Regions from separate parts of the Homo sapiens genome. Here regions 1, 3 and 4 are each linked to region 2. The links are contacts of gene promoters, found by promoter capture Hi-C in blood cells and fetal thymus (Javierre and others, 2016). All regions are on one chromosome and are shown on one strand. Each heading gives the region's core, a stretch centred on a gene start or on the middle of the fragment in contact. The rest is flanking DNA. Distances are from core to core; before and after follow the strand shown. Region 1 holds the start of LOC105372379 (a long non-coding RNA gene). Region 2 holds the start of HAMP (hepcidin antimicrobial peptide). Region 3 has its middle 31 kb from the start of FXYD5. Region 4 has its middle 13 kb from the start of LINC01531.

Region 1 (3,835 bases), core at 222-2,721, 78 kb after region 2:
TATGGCTGGATCCAGGTGCCCCTGCAATACACTCAGGATTATGCCTCTCTCCCTCTCACCTCTGCTGTCCTCAATATTGACTTCATTTTCATGCAGCAAAGATGACCTCCAGCAGTTCCAGGCTTAGAGCATAGCAGATAAGTAACCATAGCAGAAAAAGAAACACCACTTTCCCAATAGTTCCAGCAAAAGTCCTGCAGCTGTCTCTCATTGGCTTTACTTGGAATGGCGTGTTCATTTCTGGATCTGGGAAATGTAGTTGGCTGTGTCCGAATCACATAGACTAAGAGCAGGGGAGGCTGGTTCCCAAAGAAAATGAGAAGGGTAAACGAATGCCCGTCAGGCTAATCTCTCTCTTGTGTGTAGAGAGAGCCCCGGAGAGCATCAACCTGTCCTGTTTTACCATGAAGAGCATTCAAAAGCTAACAGGGTGATAGGGGTTTAGTAAGTTGGGAGTGGTCAGGGAGAGGTCTTGGAAGAGACAGTGTTGAAAGCAAAGCCTTGAGAGATAAGAAGTCAGTGTTTTAGGCGGCAGGACCTGTGAGGGCAAAACACCTGAGAAAAATCAATATTTGACAAATGAGTGGCTAAATGAATGAATGAATGAGTGAATGATTAAATGAATGAGTGGGTGAATGACTATAGACAGACACTGTAGACAAAGAGCCCCATCTTCTTGCTCAGAAGGACCCACCAGCCCCTGTAGTAATGGGAGAGCTGGAGTTGGGCTGCAGACCTTGCAGGGAAAATGGAGAGGGAGAGAAGGAGGAGGGGAGAGGAGGGAAGGAGGGAAAGAGCCACTCGGACTCCGCAGGAGCCAGGAGGAAGGGCCAGATGGACCCTACCTGGGAGACTACATCCAACGTTTCTCTCCTTGAGGGTCCTGGGCTGCCTGGAAACCCTCCCCTCTCCACAGCCTCCATTCCCTGCCCCTTCCCTCCCCCGCCTTACTCTCACTTCCTCTTTTCTGTTCCTCTTGCATACCAAGCTAGCTCTCGTCTCAGGCCTTTGTGCTTGCTGTTCCCTCTGCCTGGAACACCCTTCTCTAAGAACTTCACAGCCCTCAGGTCTCAGCCAAGAGTCCCCTCCACCAAGCAGCCCTCCCTGACCACCCCAACTGAATTACCCATCCCTCTACGCCCACAGCCTCTTCCAAATCACACCACCCTGCATACCTTCCTCTCTCTGAAAATGTCATGTTTGTGAATCTGTTGTGGTCACAGTTGTCACCCTGTCAGAGGCGTTTGAACCAGAGCAACCCCATCTTGAGTAGGGGCCAGGTAAAATGAGGCTGAGACTTACTGGGCTGCATCCCCAGATGGTTAAGGCATTCTGAGTCACAGGGTGAGATAGGAGGTCAACACAAGATGCAGGTCATAAAGACCTTGCTGATAAAACAGGATGCAATAAAGAAGCCAGATAATACCCATCAAAACCAAGATGGCCACGAGAGTGACCTCTGGTCGTCCTCACTGCTACACTCCCACCAGCGCCATGACAGTTTACAAATACCATGGCGATGTCGGGAAGTTACCCTCTATGGTCTAAAAAGGGGAGAAATGAATAATCCACCCCTTGTGTAGCATATCATCAAGAAATAACCATAAAAATGGGCAACCAGCAGTCCTCGGGGCTGCTCTGTCTATGGAGTAGCCATTCTTTATTCCTTTATTTTCCTAATAAACTTGCTTTCACTTTATGGACCTGCCCTGAATTCTCTCTTGTGGGAATCCAAGAACCCTCTCTTGGGGTCTGGATCGGGACTCCTTTCCTGTAACACTATTATTACTGACTTATGAATATTCTAGGGTTGTTGCGAAGTCTGGGTGCGAGTCAGGCACAGTGTTTACCTGCTTGGCCCTGCAGTGTCCAGCCAGGTTCGTGGCCTCCTGCCTCTGTGACCCTGTTCAAGTGACCTCCCTGCTCTGGGACTGTCTGTTCCCCCATAATATGGAGACCTCTATATTGCTCTTCTATACCTCATGTCTGTCTTTTACACACACACACACACACACACGTGTGTGTGCATGGCTGTGGTGCAGGTTTAATGACCTCATGCAGATGTCTAGAGCATGGTTCTAGGCAGAAAATGGAAAAGTATTTATAATATAATTAGTTCAACCAGCTACAATATAGACAGGGGTTTCCTGGCAGGCCATGTGACTTCAGTAATGGCCTGGGTCTGGCTTCGCCTTTAACCCTCTTCCTAGCCTCCCCTCAGCTCTCAAGGGTCAGCTAGGGGCCATCGCCCTGCATGTAGGGAGGCTGGACGGCAGAAAGCATGAACCCCATGATGCTCCCTGTCCTGCCCTGCCCATGCTGTCACCAAGTGGGGCAGCTAGACTGAAAGGGCTTCCACAACTCTGGGGTGGGCACCAACAGCCAGGGGAGCTGGAGATTGAAGGGTAACATTGCAGACTGGAATAGGAAGTTCCCTGGCCTCCAAGCCAGGCCTCACTAGGACTCTCCTGCCCTCAAATCTGGAAGCTCAGTGTCTTCACCCTTTAGGTCTCTGGGGGATAGGAGACAGAGACTTAGGAGGGTCCAGGGGAAAAGAATTTCCAAGTAATAACATGGAAAATAAAACAAAGCTACTAAACCAAAGGATATTGCTATCAACCACAGTAGCTTTCACACTTTTGTTGTTAACTGTAAGAGAGTCATTTGACATCACAACCTAGAATATATACTTTGAACCAAAAATAAAATCCTGAGCCCCCCAACTAACTAAGTGGACCCCCTTCTGGGCCAAAGGGACCCCAGAGACATCTGAACAACTGAATTCTAGCCATGAAGAAATGGGAGGTGCACATGCCTCATTCTAGCCCCTCCCTTCTGGAGTTTAGGCCCAACTGACCAACATTAACATTAAAATACAGATCACAGGACTGACAGAGTAGACTCTTTATGGCAATCAGATCCCAAATTCCAAGCTGACCCTGGTCACATGTTCTCTGAGCGCTGCCACTTAGGAGACTTCATCTGCATAACAAGGGCCTTGTCTTCTACAACCCCTTATGTTAGCTCAAGCATTCTTTTCTAAGGACTTCTTCAGTCTTTAGGCAAAGCTTAACTCTTCCAACCAAATGGCAATCAGAAAGTCTTTGAATCCGCCTGTAAGCCCTGTTCCCCACCCTCTGACTCAAGATATCCCACCTCTTTAGGCTGAACCAATGTACACCTTCCGTGTATTGATTTATGTCTTTGCCTGTAACTCCTGTCTCCCTAAAATGTATAAAACCAAACTGTAACCTGACCCCCTCAGGCACATGTTCTCAGGATCTCTTGAGACTGTACCCCAGGCCATGGCCACTCTTATAGGCTCAGAATAAACCTCTTTAAATATTTCACAAAGTTTGGCTTTTCTGTCAACAATACACACTCACAATAAGAGTTTACCAAAGTAACACTTACTTAAGGCTGGAGACAAACTCTGATACTCTGAAATTTCTTTTTTCTTCTACTTAATTCCATTTCAGAAAAAAATTGCTGGTTAGGACCTTCTAAATTGATCTCATGAACCACTAACGAGTCACTACTCACAGCATGCAAAGCTCTAATTACACACTAGAAAGTATGTTTTAACACCAGGGGAAAATGGGAAAGTTTTACTCATAGAATATTCCTTTGCATTACACTGAATGTATTTTACTTGATAGAAAATGCTGTACTTTTGCTTAAAGCTAATTTCTACAGCAGACAGATGGAGAGTATACCATGGATAGGCACAGGCAGAGGAGGCTCTGCTTTCTGGGCCTAACTTCATTCATTCATTCCACAAATCTGTACCAGGTGTTGGAGGGTCAGCAGCAGTGGCGTGCTGTATTAATCTGTT
Region 2 (3,619 bases), core at 1,070-3,569:
TCCAGCTGGCCCTGGCTCCAGCTCTGTCCTGGGGTTGCAGCTCTGCAAGTTGTCCCGTCTGTGAAAGCAGAAGGGGGTGCAGAGGATGGCAGGGGGCCCAGTGGACCTCTGAGACTGGCTCCCGGCAACCTGCTCCTCTCCAAGTGGTTTAAACCCAGAGCTCAAATGGACTCTTAGGAGGGGCCTTGCTTTCTTGCTTCTGCTCACCTTCCCATGGGCGGCTTTTCCTAAAAAAAAAAACCTCCCAGATCCGCCTCCTCCTCTTTCCACAGCTGCTACTCTTCTTTGGGATATCACCTTCCCCTGCCTGGATGCCAGTGCCAGCCTCCTAACACACCTCCCTGCATTCTTGCCCCTCAATCCATTTGCCACACAGCAGAGTCACTTTTTTTGTTTGTTTTTTAGACAGAGTCTTCCTCTGTTGCCCAGGCCAGAGTGCAGTGGCACAGTCATAGCTCCCTGCAGCCTTGACCTCCTGTGCTCAAGCGATGCTCCCGCCTCAGCTTCCCGAGTAGCTGGGACAGCAGGTGCACGCCACCACACCCGGCTAATTTTTTAATTTTTTGTAGAGGTGGGGTCTGGTTGTGTTGCCCAAGCTGGTCTTGAACTCCTGGGCTCAACTGATCTTCCTACCTTGGCCTCCCAAAACTCTGGGATTACAGGTGTGAGCCATGGTGCCTGACTGGCAGATTAAGTTTTTTAAAACATGGCCAGTGAGATTGTGGTTTTCTCCATTTTAAAAACCTACAGGAGGCTGGGCGCAGTGGCTCACGCCTGTAATCCCAGCACTTTGGGAAGCCGAGGTGGGAGAATCACCTGAGGTCAGGAGTTCAAGACCAGTCTGGCCAACATGGTGAAACCCTGTCTCTACTAAAAAAACAAAAATTAGCCGGGCGTGGTGGCAGCCGCCTGTAATCCCAGCTGCTCGGGAAGCTGAGGCAGGAGAATTGCTTGAACCCGGGAGGCGGAGGTTGCAGTGAGCCCAGATGATGCCACTGCACACCAGCCTGAACGACAGAGCGAGACCCTATCTCAGAAAAAAAAAAAAAAGCTTATGGGGGCTTCCTCTTTATTCCAAGGAAAAATCAGTGTCTGCATGGTTGCCCACAAGACTTAGGGACTGCCCACCCCTCAGCCTTATCCCCAAGTCCCACCATCTCCTCTTGTTCAGCCTGACCCTGGGCTATGCTGGCTTGTCCTCTCCTTAGGTCTTTGCTGCCTCCATCTCTCACCCTCCAAGACGAAGGTCAACTGTCACTTTCTCATGAAACACTTGCTTGACTGCCAGCCCCTTGACCATGCCTGTGGTCCCCCAACCCGTGGCATGTGCCTGCTGTCCCAGCTACTTGGGACGCTGAGGTGGGAGGATTGCTTGAGCACAGGAGGTTGAGGCTGCAGTGAACTATGACTGCACCACTGCACTCCAGCCTCAGCAACAGAGGAAGACCCTGTCTCTAAAAAACAAACCAAAAAAGTGACTCTACTGTGTGGCGAATGGGTCACGGTCACTCTACCACTGTCTGTTATGAGATTCACGAATAGAATGTACTAGACACAATTATTTATTCATGTTTTCATCAGTCTTTAACAAATTCCCTGACCAGGATGGAGAAATCTCCTCTCTCATCTACCTTGTTCATGGCCTCGTCCCCACTGTCTAGAATAAGACTCCACACGGCGTAGGGGTTCCGTAAATACCCATGGAATTAGGACCTTCCAGTCCCTGTCACTCGGTGCTTCATTGATTTCTGTTCTTTTTTGGAGATGGAGTCTTGCTCTGTTGCCAGGCTGGAGTGCAGTGGTGCAATCTCAGCTCACTGTGCAACCTCCACCTTGCGGGTTCAAGCAATTCTCCTGCCTCAGTCTCCCGAGTAGCTGGGATTACAGGCACCTGCCACCAAGCCTGGCTAACTTTTGTATTTTTAGTAGAGACGGGGTTTTACCATGTTGGCCAGGCTGGTCTCAAACTGACCTCAAGTGGGCTGCCTGCCTCAACCTCCCAAAGTGCTGGGATTACAGGCATGAGCCACCGTGCCTGTCCTGGTTCCTGTTCAGCTGCCAGTACTCCTGAGACGTCCTGAGCTCTGCTCAGTGCTCGGGTGTCTCCAGTGCCCTAGGCTGAGGCCTGGCTCTCCCATCCCTGCTGCCCTGCTAAGGACCCAGGCCACTGGGCTCTCACCTGTTGTGGGAAAACAGAGCCACTGGTCAGGCTGGCGAGGAGGAGGAGGAGCAGGAGGCAAGCGGCCCAGATCTGGGAGCTCAGTGCCATCGTGCCGTCTGTCTGGCTGTCCCACTGCTGGGTCTTGAGCTTGCTCTGGTGTCTGGGACCGAGTGACAGTCGCTTTTATGGGGCCTGCCAGGGGAGGCGGTGGTCTGAGCCCCCTCCCCTTTGCTCTGTCTCATTTCCAAGAAGGTGGTGGCGCCGAAAAGGCGGGAGAGATAAGCGGGAACAGAGCGACAGGGAACAGGGTTGTGTCACCCTCAGCCGGCAGAGGTGTGTTCAGGGGGTGGGGCAGACGGGGTCACAGACACACACTGCTCACCAGCCATCTGGGGAGCCCTTTCCCCATCACGATGTCATTCTGCTGATCGGGAAAAAAGTTCCCCCTTTTGCTTCAGCGGTTAAGCAGTTTGATGAGCAGAATCAAGGTTCCGCTCTCCTCCACTCACTTCCCCATCGCCTACATGCACACGGGGCATGGCCAGCAGCCGCCAGGCTCCTCAGGAGTGTCTGGCATGTTGGGGGAAGCATCCATTGCTTTAAGCTCTCACCACACGTGCATAGGTTCTGGCAGGGAACACTAGATAGCCCTGAGCAGGGCAAGCATCAGCGTGTGCCCGATCCGCACGTGGTGTTTTCCCAGTGTCAGACCCTTGAGATGTGGCTCTGGTAACTGGAAAATGTTTGAGCAAACTTTTGGCCATAAATGACAGCAGTAATATGGCCCAGCACAGTGGCTTATGCCTGTAATCCCAGCAATTTGGGAGGCCAAGGCAGGAGGGTCGCTTGAGCCCAGAAGTTCAAGACTAGCCTGGGCAACATAGGGAGACCCCATCTCTACAAAAAAAATTTTAAACAAATTTAGCCAGGCGTGGTGGCACACATCTGTAGTCCCAGCTACTTGGGAGGCTGAGGCAGATCGCTTAAGCCCAGGAGGCTGAGGTTGCAGTGAGCTATGATTGTGTGACTGCACTCCAGCCTGGGTGACAGAGTGAGACCCTGTCTATAAAACATAAAATAGCAGTAATAGTAATAGCTAACATCTACAGTCCGATGAGTACATTTTATACGATGGCACATATGTTGACTCACTTCTGCACCAACTCAGCCTGTGCTGCCTGTTCTCCCAGCAGCACTTACTGCCCCACCTTCAGCTCTGCTCTGTATTCAGGGGCTGCCTTCTCAGTCACCCAACCCCAGAGGCCTGGGCTCCCCAGACCCTGCTCCCTTTTAGGAACCTCCTCCCCGTCGGACACTCATTTCCTTCACTTTACAGAAAAGGCACTGAAGGCAGAGATCAGGGCATGGCCCAAGCTTGCTCAGCCAGAGGCAGAGCTGAGATTCTAGCCTGGACAGCCTGACTCCAGGGCTTTTGCTCTTACCCACCAGGTTTCCCCA
Region 3 (3,920 bases), core at 1,344-3,843, 98 kb after region 2:
GACTTATTCCAGGAATGTAACAGTGGCTTCACATCTGAAAATTAGTGTAATACACCATATCAACAGAATAAATTACAAAACCACATGATCATTTTAATGGACACAGAAAAGTCTTAAACCAGATGGCTTCATGAGTTAGTTCAACAAAACTTTTTTTTTCTTTTGAGACAGAGTCTCCCTCTGTTGCCCAGGCTGGAATGCAGCAGTGTGATCTCGGTTCACTGCAACCTCTGCCTCCCAGGTTCAAGGGGATTATCTTGCCTCAGGTTCCCGAGTAGTTGGGATTAGAGGTGCCTGCCAGCACGCCAGGCTAATTTTTGTATTTTTAGTAGAGACGGGGTTTCGCCATGTTGGCCAGGCTGGTCTCGTACTCCTGACCTTAGATGATCTGCCCCCCTCGGCCTCCCAAAATGCTGGGATCACAGGCGTGAGCCACCACACCTCATCACTGCAGCCACTATGGAAAACAGTCCAGTAGTTCCTCAAACTGTTAAAAATGCAGTCACCATTTGACCCAGCAATTTTATTCCTAAGAGAAATGAAAACTTATGTCCACATAATAACAAATACATAAGTTTATTTTCATATTATTCATAATAGCCAAAAGGTGAAAACAAAACCAAATATCTACAAACTGATGGAGGCATAAACAATATTTGGGGGGGCGGGGTCTGTAAAAAAAAAAACAAAAAAAACCCCAATATGTGGTAAATCCACACAATGAAATATTATTCAGCCATAGAAAGGAACATAGTACTGATACATGCTATGATGCGGATGAACCTTGAAGACATTACATTCAGTGAAAGAAGCCAATCACAAGACACCACATATTATATGAATACATTTATATGAAATGTCCAAAATAGGAAAATATATAGAGACAGAGAGTAGACTAGTGGTTGCTTAGGGCTGAGACATTTGGGAACAGGAGGAAAATAGCTATGGAGCATTGGGTTTCTTTTGTGGGGGTGATAAAAATATTTTAAAATTGGTCTGGGCACGGTGGCTCACACCTGTAATCCCAGCGCTTTGGGAGGCCGAGGCAGGTGGATCACGAGGTCAGGAGATCGAGACAATCCTGGCTAACATGGTGAAATCCCGGCTCTACTAAAAATACAAAAAATTAGCTGGGCGTGGTGGCGGGCACCTGTAGTCCCAGCTACTCGGGAGGCTGAGGCAGGAGAAAGGCGTAAACCCGGGAGGCCAAGTTTGCAGTGAGCCGTGATCATGCCACTGCACTCCAGCCTGGGTGACAGAGCAAGACTCTCTCTCAAAAAAAAAAAATGTTTTTAAATTGATCGTGATGATGGCTGTACATATCTATGGATATACTAAAAACCATTGACTTGTACATGATTTTTAAAAATTTTTAATTGCTGTGGGTACATCATAGGTGTATTTATTTATGGAGAACATGAGATGTTTTGATACAGGCATGCAATGTGAAATAATCAGATCGGCTTGTATGCTTTAAATGTGTGAACTGTATGGCATGTGAATTGTATGGTAAGCGAATTCTATTACAAAAATTAAAAAATTAAAATAAGAAAAAAGAGTTGCCCTTTCCATGACAGGAACAGTTCAATGTGGCTGGGCGCAGTGGCTCACACCTGTAATCCCAACATTTTGGGAGGCTGCGATGGGTGGAACACCTGAGGTCAGCAGTTTGAGACCAGCCTGGCCAACATGATGAAACCCTGTCTTCACTAAAAATATGAAAATTAGCTGGGTGTGGTGATGGATGCCTATAATCCCAGCTACTCAGGAGGCTGAGGCAGGAGAATCTCTTGAACCTGGGAGGTGGAGGTTGCAATGAGCCGAGATTGTTCCATTGCACTCAAGCCTAGGTGACAAGAGCGAGACTCTGTCTCAAAAAAGAAAAGAAAATTAAAAAAGAGACAGTTCGACGTAATTAATTAGCCATCAGCAGACTGGTTGATTGTCCTGAGGAATGGTGCAATAAATCATTGCTAATTATAGTCATCCTACAGTGCTAAGGAATGCTGGAAGTTATTTTTCCTATCTAGCTGTAATTGTGTATCCATTTGCCAACATCTTCCTATCCCCTTCAACCCCTATCCAGCCTCTAGTAACCACTATTACATTCTCTACTTCTATGATATCAACTTTCTTAGCTTCCACATATGAATGAGAATATGTGGTATTTATCTTCCCATGCTTGGCTTAATTCACCTAACATAATGTCTTACAGGCTCATTAATGTTGCCACAAATGACAAGATTTCATTATTTTTACGGTGGAATAGTATTCCATTGTGTATCTGTACCACATTTTCTTTATCCATTCATCTCTTGAAAAACACTTACGTTGATTCCATATCTTGGCTATTGAGAATGGTGCTGCAAGTCTGCCAGACTCAGAACTTACCCACCTAGACAGATCAAGCAAGAGTTTAGTAGGCTCCCCCATCTATTTCATTTCGAGGCATACCATGATAAAGTAGTGAATGCCAAAGGTCTCTTTGAGTCACATTATTCTTATTACTATTTTGACTTCACTATCAACTATAGTAACCATGCTTACCTTATCTTTGGCATATAAGTACAGATATCTCTTTGACATACTCATTTCCTGTCCTCTGAATATATACCCTAGAGTGTATTGCTGGATCATAGATAGGATAGTTCTATTTTTAGGTGTTTTTAAGGAGCCTCCATACTGTTTTCCAGTATGATTGTACTAATTTACATTTCCACCAACAGTGTATAAGAGTTCCTTTTCCTCTGCATCCTTGCCAGCTTTTGTTATTTTTTCTCTTTGATAACAGCCATTCTAAGTGGAGTGAGATGATATCTTATTGTAGTATCAATTTGCATTTGCCAGATGATTAATGATGTTGAATATTTTTCATATATACTTGTTGGTCATTTGTATGTCTTCTTTTGAGAAATGCCTATTCAGATAATTTGCTGATTTACTACTCCTTGAGGATTTCTTGTAAGGCTACTTTAGTGGTAATAAATTCCCTCAGTTTTTGCTTGTCTGGGAAAGACTTTATGACTCCTTCATTTCTAAAGGATAGATTTGCTGTTACAGTATTCTTGGCTGCCAGGTTTTTTTCTTTCATCACTTAGAATATATCATCCCATTCGCTCCTGTAATATAAGGTTTCTGCTGAGAAGTCTTCTATTAGTCTAATGGGGATTCCCTTATATGTGACTTGATGCTTTTCTCTTGCTGTTTTTCAAATTCCCTCATGGTCTTCAACTTTTGACAGTTTGACCAGAATGTGCTACAGAGAGGACCTTTTTGGGTTGAATCTATTTGGGGACTTTTGAGCATCCTGAATCTGGATGTCCATACCTTTCCCGAGACTTTGGAAGTTCTCAGCTATTACTTTATTACATAGGATTTCTGTGTCTTTTCTCATCTCTTTTCCTTTTGGAAATTGGAATATCTGTTTGCTTAACAATGTCCCATAGGTCTTGTAGGCTTCCTTCATTCTTTTTTATTTTATTTTTTGTCTGATTGAGTTATTTCAAAAGAGACCTGTCTTCAAGTTTAGAAATTCTTTCTTCTGCTTGACCTAGTTTGTTGTTGAAGCTCTCAATTATATTTTAAATTTCATTTATTGGCCGGGATCGGTGGCTCACGCCTGTAATTCTAGCACTTTGGGAGGCTGAGGTGGGCAGATCACCAGGTCAGGAGTTCGAGACCAGCCTGGCCAACATGGCGAAACCCCGTCTCTACTAAAAATACAAAAATTAGCTGGGCATGGTGGCAGGGGCCTGTAATCCCAGCTACTCAGTAGGTTGGGGCAGAAGAATTGCTTGAACCTGGGAGGCAGAGGTTGCAGTGAGCCAAGATCATGCCATTGCACTCCAGCCTGGGTGACAAGAGCAAGACTCTGTTTCAAAAAAAAAAAAAAAAAAATCATTTATTAAGTCTTCAGCTCC
Region 4 (3,888 bases), core at 583-3,082, 110 kb before region 2:
ATAATAAATGTTGTGTAGGTATTGTGTAATTTTAAAAGTCTTATAAATAAGGAGGCTTTTTCCCAGTATGACATAATGTAGAAGTCATCAAAAAATGATGAGAAATTTGAGCACATAAAAAGAGATAACCTATGAAAAACATTACAATCAACAAAGTAAAAGGCCACTATCCTTCTACTTATACACCTGATATGAGGTTTGTAAGCCAATATTCAAAGAACTCCTGTAAGTCAAATAAGAACAAAGCAAGTATTGGGAGAAACACAAATGACTCTACACAATATGTAAATATTGTCTATCTCATTTTTAATCTGGGAGATTAATATGAAAATAATACAGAGTATGACGGTTAATTTTATGTGTTGGCTTGGCCACGCCACAGTGCCCAGATATTTGGTGAAACGTTATTCTGGGTGTTGCTGTGAGGGTGTTTTTGGATGAGATTGACATTTACATTGGTGGACTCTGAGCAAAGCAGATTGCCCTCCAAAATGTGGGGGACTCCTCCAGTCACTGAAGGCCTGAACAGCACAAAAGGCTGACCTCCACATGCAAAAGAGAATTCTCCTGCATGCTGGATTCAGACTTTGTCTGCAGCAGTGGGTCTTCCTGGCTCACCAGCAGGCTCTCTTTAGACTCAACCACAACTTCTTCCTGAGCCTCGAGTCAGCCAGCTTCCTCCGTCAGATTTTGGGCTCATCAAGCATTCACAATCACATGAGCCAATTCCTTAAATAAATCTCTTTATACACACATGCAGACATGCAGACACACACACACACACACACAAACACACACACAGAAACACACAGACACACACACGGAGACACACAGTAACACACAGACACACACATGGACACACACACAGACATGCACACAGAAACACAGAGACACACACAGACACAGAGAGATATACACACACACAGAGAGACACACAGACCCACAAAAACACACAGAGACACACAGAAACACATACAAACATGCACACAGAAACACATACACAGAGACACACATTAACACACAGAGCCACAAACATACATGCACACAGACGCACACAGAGACATACAGACACACACATGGAGACACATATACAGACACACACAAAAACACACACAGAGAGAAACACACACACAGACATGCACACAGAGACACACATAGAGACACAGACAGAGACACACATACAAAAACATACAGAGACACACAGAGGTACACACACACAGAGACACACACAGACATGCACAGAGACACACACACAGATACATACACAGACACACACACAGACACACACACACCGCAGAGACACACATACACACACAGACACATGCACAGAGACACAGACACACAGACACACCCACAGACACACATACACACACTCTATTGGTTCTGTTTCTCTGGAAATCCCAGACTAATACTTAAGTTTCTAAATTCTAAATATCATCTCAAAAAATTAAAATACAATATTTTCTCTTGTCAGCAGAGTTATGGGGTCTCTTACAGACTGTTGGGGAAGAAAGGGTTGACTCAGCCGGGGAAGGTAATTCATCGATATTTATCAAAGCTTTACATGTACATATCATTTAATTCAACAGTACGACTTGTAGGAAATGCACAGTGCACGTGCCTTTATGTAAAAGGATGTTCTCATAGCATTATTTATAATAGTAGAAAATTAGAGATATTTTTAAAAAATCATTCATTCATTTATTCACCATCAAATGCCCAGTCTGTGCTAGGCACGGTTTTAGGCACCCACTGGGTATATAGTGACAAAGAAAACTGACGTGGTGACTGCTGTCATGGGCTTCTCAGTCTAGTAGGAGTCACGTTAAACAAATGAACACACACATACAAACATCAAACCATGAGAGCGCAGTGTGAGATAATATCAGAAGGGGGCTACTTGATATTGGATGATCAGGGAAAGCCTCTCTAAGGCGTGACATTGGACAGAAACTTGGAAGAAGTGGGGAACTAGCCAGGTAAAGAGTGGAAGGCATGGTGCATGCAGACATTCAGAGCTTGGCCTGCTCAAGGGACAGAGAGAAGTCCAGGCCAGAAGAGCGATGTCAGTGACACTTCTCTGGGGATGGCCCCAGAGAAGCTTGGAGAGAGAGGCAGGGCCTCAAAGGCTGTGAGGAGGAGGCCAGAATGGAAAGCCATTGAAAAGTTTTATTCAGGGCAATGACAGGATCCAATTTATATTCCTCATGAAACTGGCCTGATTGTCCCATAGATGCTTCTTTTGGATCAACGTAGAAATTCACCCTTCTTTTTTTTTTTTTTTTTTTTTTTTTAGATGGAGTCTTTCTCTGTTGCCCAGGCTGGAGTGCAGTGGTGCGATCTTGGCTCACTACAACCTCTGCTTCCCAGGTTCAAGCAATTCTCCTGCCTCAGTCTCCTGAGTAGCTGGGACTACAGGCACATGCCACCAAACCCGGCTAATTTTTTGTATTTTTAGTAGAGACAGGGTTTCACTGTGTTAGCCAGGATGGCCTTGATCTCCTGACCTCGTGATCCACCCACCTCGGGCTCCCAAAGTGCTGGGATTACAGGCATGAGCCACTGTGCCTGGCCCCCTCCTGGTCTTAAAGTTTGAAGCCTGCATTTGTCTTATCTGAGTTCTTGCCACAGGAAATCAACGAATTGAAACTCACCAGATCACTGCATCCAGACAATGAGATGCCAGACCCCTCATCCCTCCTGATTTCCTTATCCCTCCCTAATTCCTTTGACCAACTCCTCTTCCTTACCTCTCCCTAACTCTGGTTTTCCCACATGTAGTTACATTTCTTCCCTGCTGTATAACCCCCTGATTTTAGTTGACTAGGGAGATGGATTTGAGACTGATCCCCATTTTCCTTGGCTAAAGCACTCAATTAAAGCCTTCTTCCCAGGCAGTACTCATTGTCTTGGTGATTGGCTTTCTGTGCAGTGAGCAACGGGACCTAGACTGGAGCCCTGGCATTTCAGTAACAGATTTTGGTTCCCTACCTGGGAACACATTGCTTGTGGCTCAGCTGCTGCAGACTGGGACTTTCAGAAGCCCCCTGTACAGCTGTCTGACCTTTTTTTGGCTGGAGGTGGGTTTCCATCTTTTTCTCTTTGGCTCTGCTGCTGCCAGCCCCAAATGTATTGCTGATTGCCTAGGAAGAACAGACTTTGAAATTTGATATCTGTGTCTGGATGGATGAGTGTCTTTTCTGGGTTCCAGACAGCAGGAAGGGCTCCTCTCAATTTGGGAATTTTCTAAGGAATTTCCATTTGCAGGTTGAATAAGCCCAAATGATGGAGGGAGGAAAGCACCATGACTGTTTCAGTTTGGACACTCTTGGGGCTTGTTAGTGAGAACTAAGCTCTGATTTTTAAAATCTTGCCCAAATTCCTATCTAAGGGGTCTAGAGAAGTCATGCTCTACAAACCATAAATTCTCATCAGATTTTTGTTGTTGTTGTTGAGACAGTCTTACTCTGTTGCCCAGGCTGGAGTGCAATGGTGCGATCTCAGCTCACTGCAACCTCTGCCTCCTGGGTTCAAGCAATTCTCCTGCCTCAGCCTCACGAGTAGCTGGAATTACAGGTGCCTGCCACTACGCCCTGCCAATTTTTGTATTTTTCGTAGAGATGGGGTTTCACCATAATGGCCAGGCTGTTCTCGAACTCCTGACCTCAGGTGATCTGCCTGCCTCAGCCTCCAAAAGTGCAGGGATTACAAGCGTGAGCCACCATGCCCAGCCCAGATGGGTTTTATTTAACTTACATATTGTGACTTACTTTCCAATCTTACTCTGGTATAACATTACACGACAAAGAAGAAAGTCATAATATTTTACCCCAAAACATGTTTCTTTGCCATATTTTGAAATGGCCCTGCAAAGTTGTCCTTTGTGGG

The links. Contacts are between HindIII fragments. The CHiCAGO score rates a contact against its expected background, and 5 or more counts as called.
Region 1: a contact is called between a fragment that was not itself captured here and the fragment with the promoter of HAMP in region 2, in 2 of 17 cell types (total B cells and monocytes). The highest score is 6.2, in total B cells.
Region 3: a contact is called between a fragment that was not itself captured here and the fragment with the promoter of HAMP in region 2, in 3 of 17 cell types (total B cells, monocytes and naive B cells). The highest score is 7.4, in total B cells.
Region 4: a contact is called between a fragment that was not itself captured here and the fragment with the promoter of HAMP in region 2, in 2 of 17 cell types (monocytes and naive B cells). The highest score is 8.1, in monocytes.

The regions. Positions count from the first base shown.
Region 1 is chr19:35,202,617-35,206,451 of GRCh38, reverse strand. LOC105372379 (a long non-coding RNA gene) reads right to left here and starts at 1,331. Exons shown (of 3, transcript XR_935938.2): 1 at 1,176-1,331; 2 at 60-299. RefSeq lists enhancers at 672-841, 1,817-2,334, 2,335-2,852, 2,853-3,370. The HindIII fragment of the contact is 3,198 bases long and covers 1-3,070 here.
Region 2 is chr19:35,281,228-35,284,846 of GRCh38, reverse strand. It overlaps HAMP (hepcidin antimicrobial peptide), which reads right to left and starts at 2,319. Exons shown (of 3, transcript NM_021175.4): 1 at 2,180-2,319; 2 at 1-58. The coding sequence starts at 2,269. RefSeq lists an enhancer at 1,948-2,457. The HindIII fragment of the contact is 2,484 bases long and covers 1,054-3,537 here.
Region 3 is chr19:35,183,676-35,187,595 of GRCh38, reverse strand. No RefSeq gene overlaps it. Among named protein-coding and RNA genes, the nearest start is that of FXYD5, 31 kb to the right of the region's middle. The HindIII fragment of the contact is 8,299 bases long and covers 1-3,920 here.
Region 4 is chr19:35,390,298-35,394,185 of GRCh38, reverse strand. No RefSeq gene overlaps it. Among named protein-coding and RNA genes, the nearest start is that of LINC01531, 13 kb to the left of the region's middle. The HindIII fragment of the contact is 543 bases long and covers 1,561-2,103 here.